Regions from separate parts of the Homo sapiens genome. Here region 2 is linked to region 1. Evidence: promoter capture Hi-C in human tissues and cell types (Jung and others, 2019). All regions are on one chromosome and are shown on one strand. The core of a region is centred on a gene start or on the middle of the fragment in contact, and the rest is flanking DNA. Distances in the headings are between cores, read along the strand shown. Region 1 holds the start of RBM39 (RNA binding motif protein 39). Region 2 overlaps CEP250 (centrosomal protein 250).

The links. Contacts are between HindIII fragments. The study calls those that stand out against the background at their distance.
Region 2: a contact is called between a fragment that was not itself captured here and the fragment with the promoter of RBM39 in region 1, in 1 of the 25 tissues and cell types used here (heart right ventricle).

What each region holds. Positions count from the first base shown.
Region 1 is chr20:35,740,728-35,744,115 of GRCh38, forward strand. RBM39 (RNA binding motif protein 39) reads right to left here and starts at 1,533. Exons shown (of 17, transcript NM_184234.3): 1 at 1,214-1,533; 2 at 97-160. The coding sequence starts at 147. RefSeq lists a silencer at 913-1,012 and enhancers at 1,273-1,422, 1,436-2,121, 1,483-1,702, 1,873-1,972. The HindIII fragment of the contact is 31,582 bases long and covers 1-3,388 here.
Region 2 is chr20:35,473,839-35,477,614 of GRCh38, forward strand. It overlaps CEP250 (centrosomal protein 250), which reads left to right. Exons shown (of 35, transcript NM_007186.6): 14 at 32-214; 15 at 1,664-1,808; 16 at 2,611-2,757. CEP250-AS1 (CEP250 antisense RNA 1) reads right to left here. Exons shown (of 3, transcript NR_184017.1): 3 at 1-2,837. Among named protein-coding and RNA genes, the nearest start is that of CEP250-AS1, 15 kb to the right of the region's middle. The HindIII fragment of the contact is 3,045 bases long and covers 381-3,425 here.

The DNA.
Region 1 (3,388 bases), core at 283-2,782:
AGGGCTCCGGGGAGGTTAGTTTACATTTCAGCAGTAGTTTCGTGAATAATGCTAAATTAAGAAATATATAAACCTCACCGACATGTTTTTTCTCACCTTCTTGTAAGGAGCCTCAAGCATTGCTTCAATATCAATATCGTCTGCCATTTTCTCTAAACGCCTAGGAAGAGAACAAGACAATTTCTTGAGTAAACATTTCTCTTACAATGTGAAACAAGTTTCACTCTTGTTGCCTATATCGTCTAACATTTTCTCTAAACGCCTAGGAAAAGAACAAGACGATTCCGTGAGTAAACATTTTTCTTTTTTTTTTTTTTTTTTTTTGAGACGGAGTTTCGCTCTAGTTGCCCAGGCTGAAGTGCAGTAGCGCGATCTCGGCTCACTGCAAGCTCCGCCTCCCAGGTTCCAGCGATCCTACCACCTCACCTCCCGAATAGCTGGGATCACAGGCGCCTGCCACCACGCCCGGCTAATTTTTGTATTTTTGGTAGAGACGGGGTTTCACCATGTTGATGAGGTTGGTCTCGAACTCCTAACCTCAAGTGATCCGCCTGCCTCTGCCTCCCAAACTGCTGGGATTACAGGCGTGAGCCACCGCGCCCGGCCTGGTAAACGTTTTTCAAATCGACTGAATTTTTCTTCTCAGCCGACACACTCGAAAACTTAAGAAAAACCTCCAAAAGCCCTACAATTAATGACTAAAGTGACATGCACTTTAACCAGGTTTGGCTTACGTAAGTAAATCCAAAACGCCTCTTACACGAAACACACGAAAATGAAGACTTCAATATCCAATATTTAAAACTCTGCTGTCAACTCCAAAAACAGAAACTGGGAGACCCGAACGAGAGCGCCTCTTTCCGGGCAAAAACCCGCGCTGCCATTTTAGGGGCAAAGAGAAACTCCCTCCATTGGGAGGGGTTATGAGCCAAGGCAGCGTTCAACTGGCGCCATGTTGGGAGGTCGCGGCCGGCCCAGGCCTCGAAGGAGACAGGTCACCATTCTACCGCGGCCTCTCGGGGGTCCCTACCGCCCCAAGAATCCAGACTATACCCGACTGGAAAATAAGGGCGCGGTCACTGAAACAGGGCCGATTTCTCGAAAACCACCCCCCACCCCGGTCGCTAAAGACCTCCAAAAGCGCCCCTCAGCCCAAAATGGAGCCAAACCTCGAGAAAGCTGAGATAATACGCGGGTCCGCAACGCCCCGTACCTGTTCCGGCCTTCGGGCGCCTGTGGTGCTCGTGTTCGGGAAGAGATTGCTGCTGCTGCTGCTGCTGCTGCCGCCGCCGCCGCTTCTGTTGCTACTGTTAAGCCCCTAGGCCCAGGCCGCGGAACCGCCCAGCCCGAATATCGGGTTCCAAGGACGGCTAGGCCCGAGAGAATCTAAAAAAAACAATGGAATTAGAGAAGCCCACGCGGGAGAGCAGGACGGCGGCTTCGGCAGCTCAGGATCCACCCCTGCGACAGCGTCGACAAGCTCCCTGAAATGGCGGCCGCTGCTTCCCTGTACTCACATTCACCAGCACACATACACACACACAAACACACGGGGCCTCACAGAGCCCTCAGCACGGGCTCTCGCGAGAAGCTGCCCCAAGCTCCAAATTTGAGCGGCCGAAGTATCGCGAGACCTAAGTATGGCTCCGGCGACCGTAGCCCAATCTCGCGCAATGATTGCGCCACAGATATTCCCATCCCCCATTCAGTGAGGCGCCTTTCACTCCCCCTCCGCGTAAGCACCCAAATCTCGCGAGACAGAGCGGGTCTCTAGGGCAAAGACAGTTGGTAGGCTGCCTGTCAATCTTTCAGAGAGCTCTTCGCTGAGTGGAGCTCAGCGGTCACCTCCCCCTCGTGGCGCCTCCTCACGGCCATCTGAAGATTCCTCCGGCACAGCCGATCGCCCCCGCTCCGGCCTCCCACACAGATGGCTGTCAAGGTCGCCATAAGGCAACCTAGTCCTTATGGCGATAGGATAAAACGGCCATATTCAGATTATCCGCTGAGGGTGGAGAGGAAGTGGAAAAGTGTATCAGAAGGCCAGAAGAAGAGATCTTTAGGGGTAGGGGGAGAGGGGGAGATAATAAAAATAGATTTCCCTGTCATTTGGAGCCAATGGCGCGGCCTCCACTGTCGAGCTTTGAAACAACCTTGGAAATAGTGGAGAAAAGCAAAAAAAAGGTGGAAAAAATAAACTCTTGCTTCCCTTGGCATGGGATCAGTTTTGTGCCCCGAATTTAATCAGCTCTTGTGTCAGGGTTGCTACCGTTCCTTCAAAAATGTTCCCCTTCCTGAATATTACTGGACGATTTGGTGAAAAAATAAGACACCCCCCCAACAAAAAAAAAAAGGCCCCCTTCCCCCTGGGACCTGGCTCCTCTCCCCTGAAGTCTTCTAGATGCCAGGTAATTAGAGTATGAATTAGCCATTTGTTCTTTGGTCAGTACTGTGTGAGGTTTCCTCCTAGATGCTGGGAAAAAAAACTGGAAAGAAGTCTTCAAAGCAAAAATCTTACCCTCTAATCTTAACAGTCTAATGATTGAGGGCAGAAAAGATTGGAAATGAGACGCCTTGATTAGTGTAACTAGCTGCTGCAACACTGTGTGACCTTGGACAAGCAAATTAACCTCTCAGAGGGGATCTTTCATTTCCTGATTTAAAAGAGGACGTACTTAGTAGCTAGTCTAAGCTACTTGAGACTGAGGAAGGCAGGTAATGCTCAGTACTGAATTTTTAGAGGTTAGCAGGGCATGTCTGCCCAAGTGGACCCTCAGTAAATTAATGAATGAAGGCTCAGAAGGGCTATAGTGAAGATTAAATGATATAATGTCTGTAAAACGCCTGGTAAATATTTGATCTTCAAAACAGCTAACTTCTGTTTCTGCTAAACAAAATTATTTAGAGCAAATATAGATGTTAAGTGGTTTTGCCTCTCAGGTTAACTTTACACACAGGTTAGGATTTATCTTAGAGGATTATTAATAACAGTTATTTTGTAGTTAGAATACTCCCTTAATCCTTTTTCTGAAAATTCAGATCCTCTTTTTATTTTATTTCTGAGACAGTCTCGCTCTGGAGGCTGGGCGCAGTGGCTCATGCATCTAATCCCAGCACTTTGGGAGGCCGACGCGGGTGGACCGCCTGAGGTCAGGAGTTCAAGACCTGACCAACATGGCGAAACCCTGTCTCTACTAAAAATAAAAAAAAAACTAGGTGGCAGGCGCCTGCAATTCCCAGCTACTCGGGAGGCTGAGGCAGGAGAATCACTTGAACCTGGGAGGCAGAGGTTGCAGTGAGCTGAGATCATGCCATTGCACTCCAGCCTGGGTGACAGAGATCGAGACTCCATCTCAAAAAAAAAAGAAAGAAAAAGAAAGAAAAGAAAACT
Region 2 (3,776 bases), core at 653-3,152, 270 kb before region 1:
TCTCTGCTCATCTCTGATTCCCTTCTTCCAGGGAGCGAGAGCTGCTGCAGAAGGCCAGGGAAGAGCTGCGGCAGCAGCTGGAGGTGCTAGAGCAGGAGGCATGGCGCCTGCGAAGGGTAAATGTGGAGCTTCAGCTGCAGGGGGACTCTGCCCAGGGCCAGAAGGAGGAACAGCAGGAGGAGCTGCACCTGGCTGTCCGGGAGAGGGAGCGTCTGTAAGTGAGACTAGTCTCCTCCTCGCTGGGCCCTGGTCTTTCTTCAATTCTACACCCTCCCCGTCTACTCCCCTCTGTTACAAAGTAGAGTATGTAGAAGTCTGGCATGCAGTGGGTTCAGATTAGCTTGCTGCTTCTTCCTTTGCAGAAAGATGAATATGGAAAGTTCGTGGTTGGTTAAGTCTTAGTTGAGCACCCATATGGGATGAGACACTGAGGGGGATACAGAAATGAATAAGACAAAAGCCCTGATTTCAGGGAACTTGCCAGAAGACAGACAACTCACTGTGACATGAGGCTGGATGAAGTATGAGTTAAATAGAGTTTCAGACCAAGTCCTTTGGGAGCACAGGAGTGACAGCTAATTATTGAAGACTAGGAAATGCTTTATGGAGGAGAGAGTAGACTTTGAGCTGGGCCTTTACCTATTTGGTTAGCAGAGAGTGGGAGAAGAGCTCAAGGAACAGATTAGCAAAGAAAAGGCGGCAGGAAGGTTCATGGCATGTTCAGAGTAGGCTGGGCTGGCTAAAGGGTAAGACTTATACAGGGAAGTAGTGGGAAATGTGCTAGCTGGTCAAGAAAGGGAAATCCAGAATCAATGGCCCCAGCTAATCTGTAAATTCCCCTATATGATGTCACAGAAAAAGCAAGGACTTTGAGCTAGGCAGAAGCTTAGTTTAAATTATGGCTCTGTCACATGGACAGATTATTTGTAGAATGATGATAATATTTACCTTGAAGGGTTGCTGGGAAGATGAGAGCAATGTTTTGGAAAACGCCAGCATAGAACCTGGCATATGGTAGGTCTTTAATAACTGGGAGCAGGGATATATCTTCATCTTTGCTGTATTTCCCTCCTCTCCTGTGCCCCAGTTCCTTGTACCTGGTAGGCATGAATAGTGGAAGCTTGAAGGGCTGCCATAAGGGTCATGACTTGTGCTAAGAATGATCTCCCTGTACCAAGGAGAAGGGCAGACAACCCCTAACAACAAAAAATTAGCTGTAGCTGAATGTGGTGGCATGTGCCTGTAGCCATGGCAAGGTGAGATGGGAGGATCACATGAGCCCCCAGGAGTTTGAGGCTTCAGTGAGCTAAGAAGATACACAGAGAAGTCTCACTCTCATTTGTGCTTTCTCCATCCCATTTCCCTTCCCCCTTTAGGCAACCATTTTAGCTGACTTCTTGTTTATCTTGCCAGTGCTCCTTCATGCAAATACGGGCATATATTCTTTCTTCCCCCACTTTCTTGCATAAAAGGTAGTGTATCATGTATATACTGTTCTGCACCTTGATTTTTTTCACTTGACATGTCTTAGAAATCTTTCCTTATCAGTGTTTATAGACCATCCTCATTCTGTTGCATAGCAAAGGTGATTATATTCCTGTTACCTTTGGGGTTATGGCCCATCCCTAAGAGTTCCTCTAGACCCCTCTCTTTCCCATCTTAGTCAGGAGATGCTGATGGGCCTGGAAGCCAAACAGTCAGAATCACTCAGTGAACTGATCACTCTTCGGGAAGCCCTGGAGTCAAGTCACCTGGAAGGGGAGTTACTGAGGCAAGAGCAAACGGAAGTGACCGCAGCGCTGGCTAGGGTGCGTGGCCTCCTCTCCTCACTTGCTGGGTGGGCGGCTTCGAAAGTGTGTTCCCATGCAGCCTGCCTCATTCTTCACCTTCAAGCCAGGATCCCTCATCTTTCCTCAATCATTAGTCTGCTTCTGGGTTCTCTATTCCAACATACCCTCTATATTGGAATTAGAATGGGCTTTCTAAAGTATATACCTGGTTATGTCAGTCTCTTAAAACCATTCAACGGCTTTCTAGCTCTGTGGTGCCACATTCAAAGCTTTTTGTCATGTGCCTCAAAGTGTGTTTTAGCCTCCCCTTCTACTGCAAAACCCATCCTAACACCTCATATCCTTTGCTCCTGCCACAGCAGTAATTGCCTTCTCAGTTATTCCATGTTCTTCATGACTCTAATACTCTGCGTGTACTTTTCCCTTTCTCTGCACTACTTCTTTCCTCTTCCTTTATGTGCAAACTGTTCCTCATCTCTCAGTACACAACTTAATCGTCAACTCCTCTACCAAGCATATTTGACTCTTCCAAACTATATTAATATTTTTTTTAGTTCCCAGAGCACTTTGTGCTTACATTTTCTGTGGCATCATTACAATCATAGTCATTTCTCTATCCTAACTTTGGTATCTCTATACTGTGAGGTCCTGTCTCACTCCTTAATGAATGAATGAAGGGAAAACTTGTTTAGAATGCAGGAGAGGGAATGGAGTATTAACTGATCTCTGTACCAAAAAGCAGCAGTGTTGGGAATGTGAACTGTTTACTGTTCCAGGAAAATTGGAAATATGAAACTCTTTAATCCTTTTTGTTTTTTAGGCAGAGCAGTCAATTGCAGAGCTGTCGAGTTCTGAAAACACCCTGAAGACAGAAGTAGCTGATCTTCGGGCTGCAGCTGTCAAGCTCAGTGCCTTAAATGAGGCTTTGGCGTTAGATAAAGTTGGGCTGAACCAGCAGCTTCTCCAGGTGAGCAAAGATTTTCCTGGTCCCCACAGAAGGGCTGGGCCCTAACTGAGAGCAAGACGGATCAGCTCCCAAATGTAGGTCTGAAATGAGCAAAAGGAACATTTACAATGCAGAGGAGAGCAAAGACTGTAAGGATTGGGCTTAGCCATTATAAATATTCCCCTCCCACACCTCCAGCAGAACCACCTCTGGACTTCAGGGTAAGACACCAAGGTTGGGAAGGGGCCCATGTCCTCTGGAAGGAAGACTAGGTTTTTTGCTGGGGTTTTCTTGAGATGGATCTCCCTCTGTCACCTAGGCTGGAGTGCAGTGGTGCGATCTTAGCTAACTGCAGTTTTCATCTCCTGGGTTCAAGCAATTCTCCTGCCTCAGCCTCCTGAGTAGCTGGGATTACAGGCATGTGTCACCACACCTGGCTAATTTTTTTTTTTTGAGATGGAGTTTTGCTCTTGTTGCCCAGGCTGGAGTACAGTGGCACGATCTTGGCTCGCTGCAACCTCTGCATCCCGGGTTCAAGCAATTCTCTTGCCTCAGCCTCCTGAATATCTGGGATTACAGGCATGCACCACCATGCCTGGCTAATTTTGTATTTTTAATAGAGACAGGGTTTTACAATGTTGGTCAGGCTGTTCTCAAACTCCTGACCTCAGGTGATCCACCTGCCTCAGCCTCCCAAAGTGCTAGGATTACAGGCGTGAGCCACCACACTTGGCTGCCCTGGGCTAGTTTTTGTATTTTTAGTAGAGATGGGGTTTCACCATGTTGGCCAGGCTGATCTTGAACTCCTGGCCTCAGGTGATCCATCCACCTCAGCCTCCTGAAGTCCTGGGATTACAGGCATGAGCCACCATACCCGGCCTAAGTCTAGGTTGTTAATCCTGTTGGGTGAGATAATAGCAATCACCAGAAAAGAATCTGCTGAAGAGCCTAAGTCCCAAAGAATCTTTTCTATAGGTTATAAATTTAACCTATAATTATAGCGAGGGAACCTCCTTGCAATCTCTGTTTCCTTGAGTGTT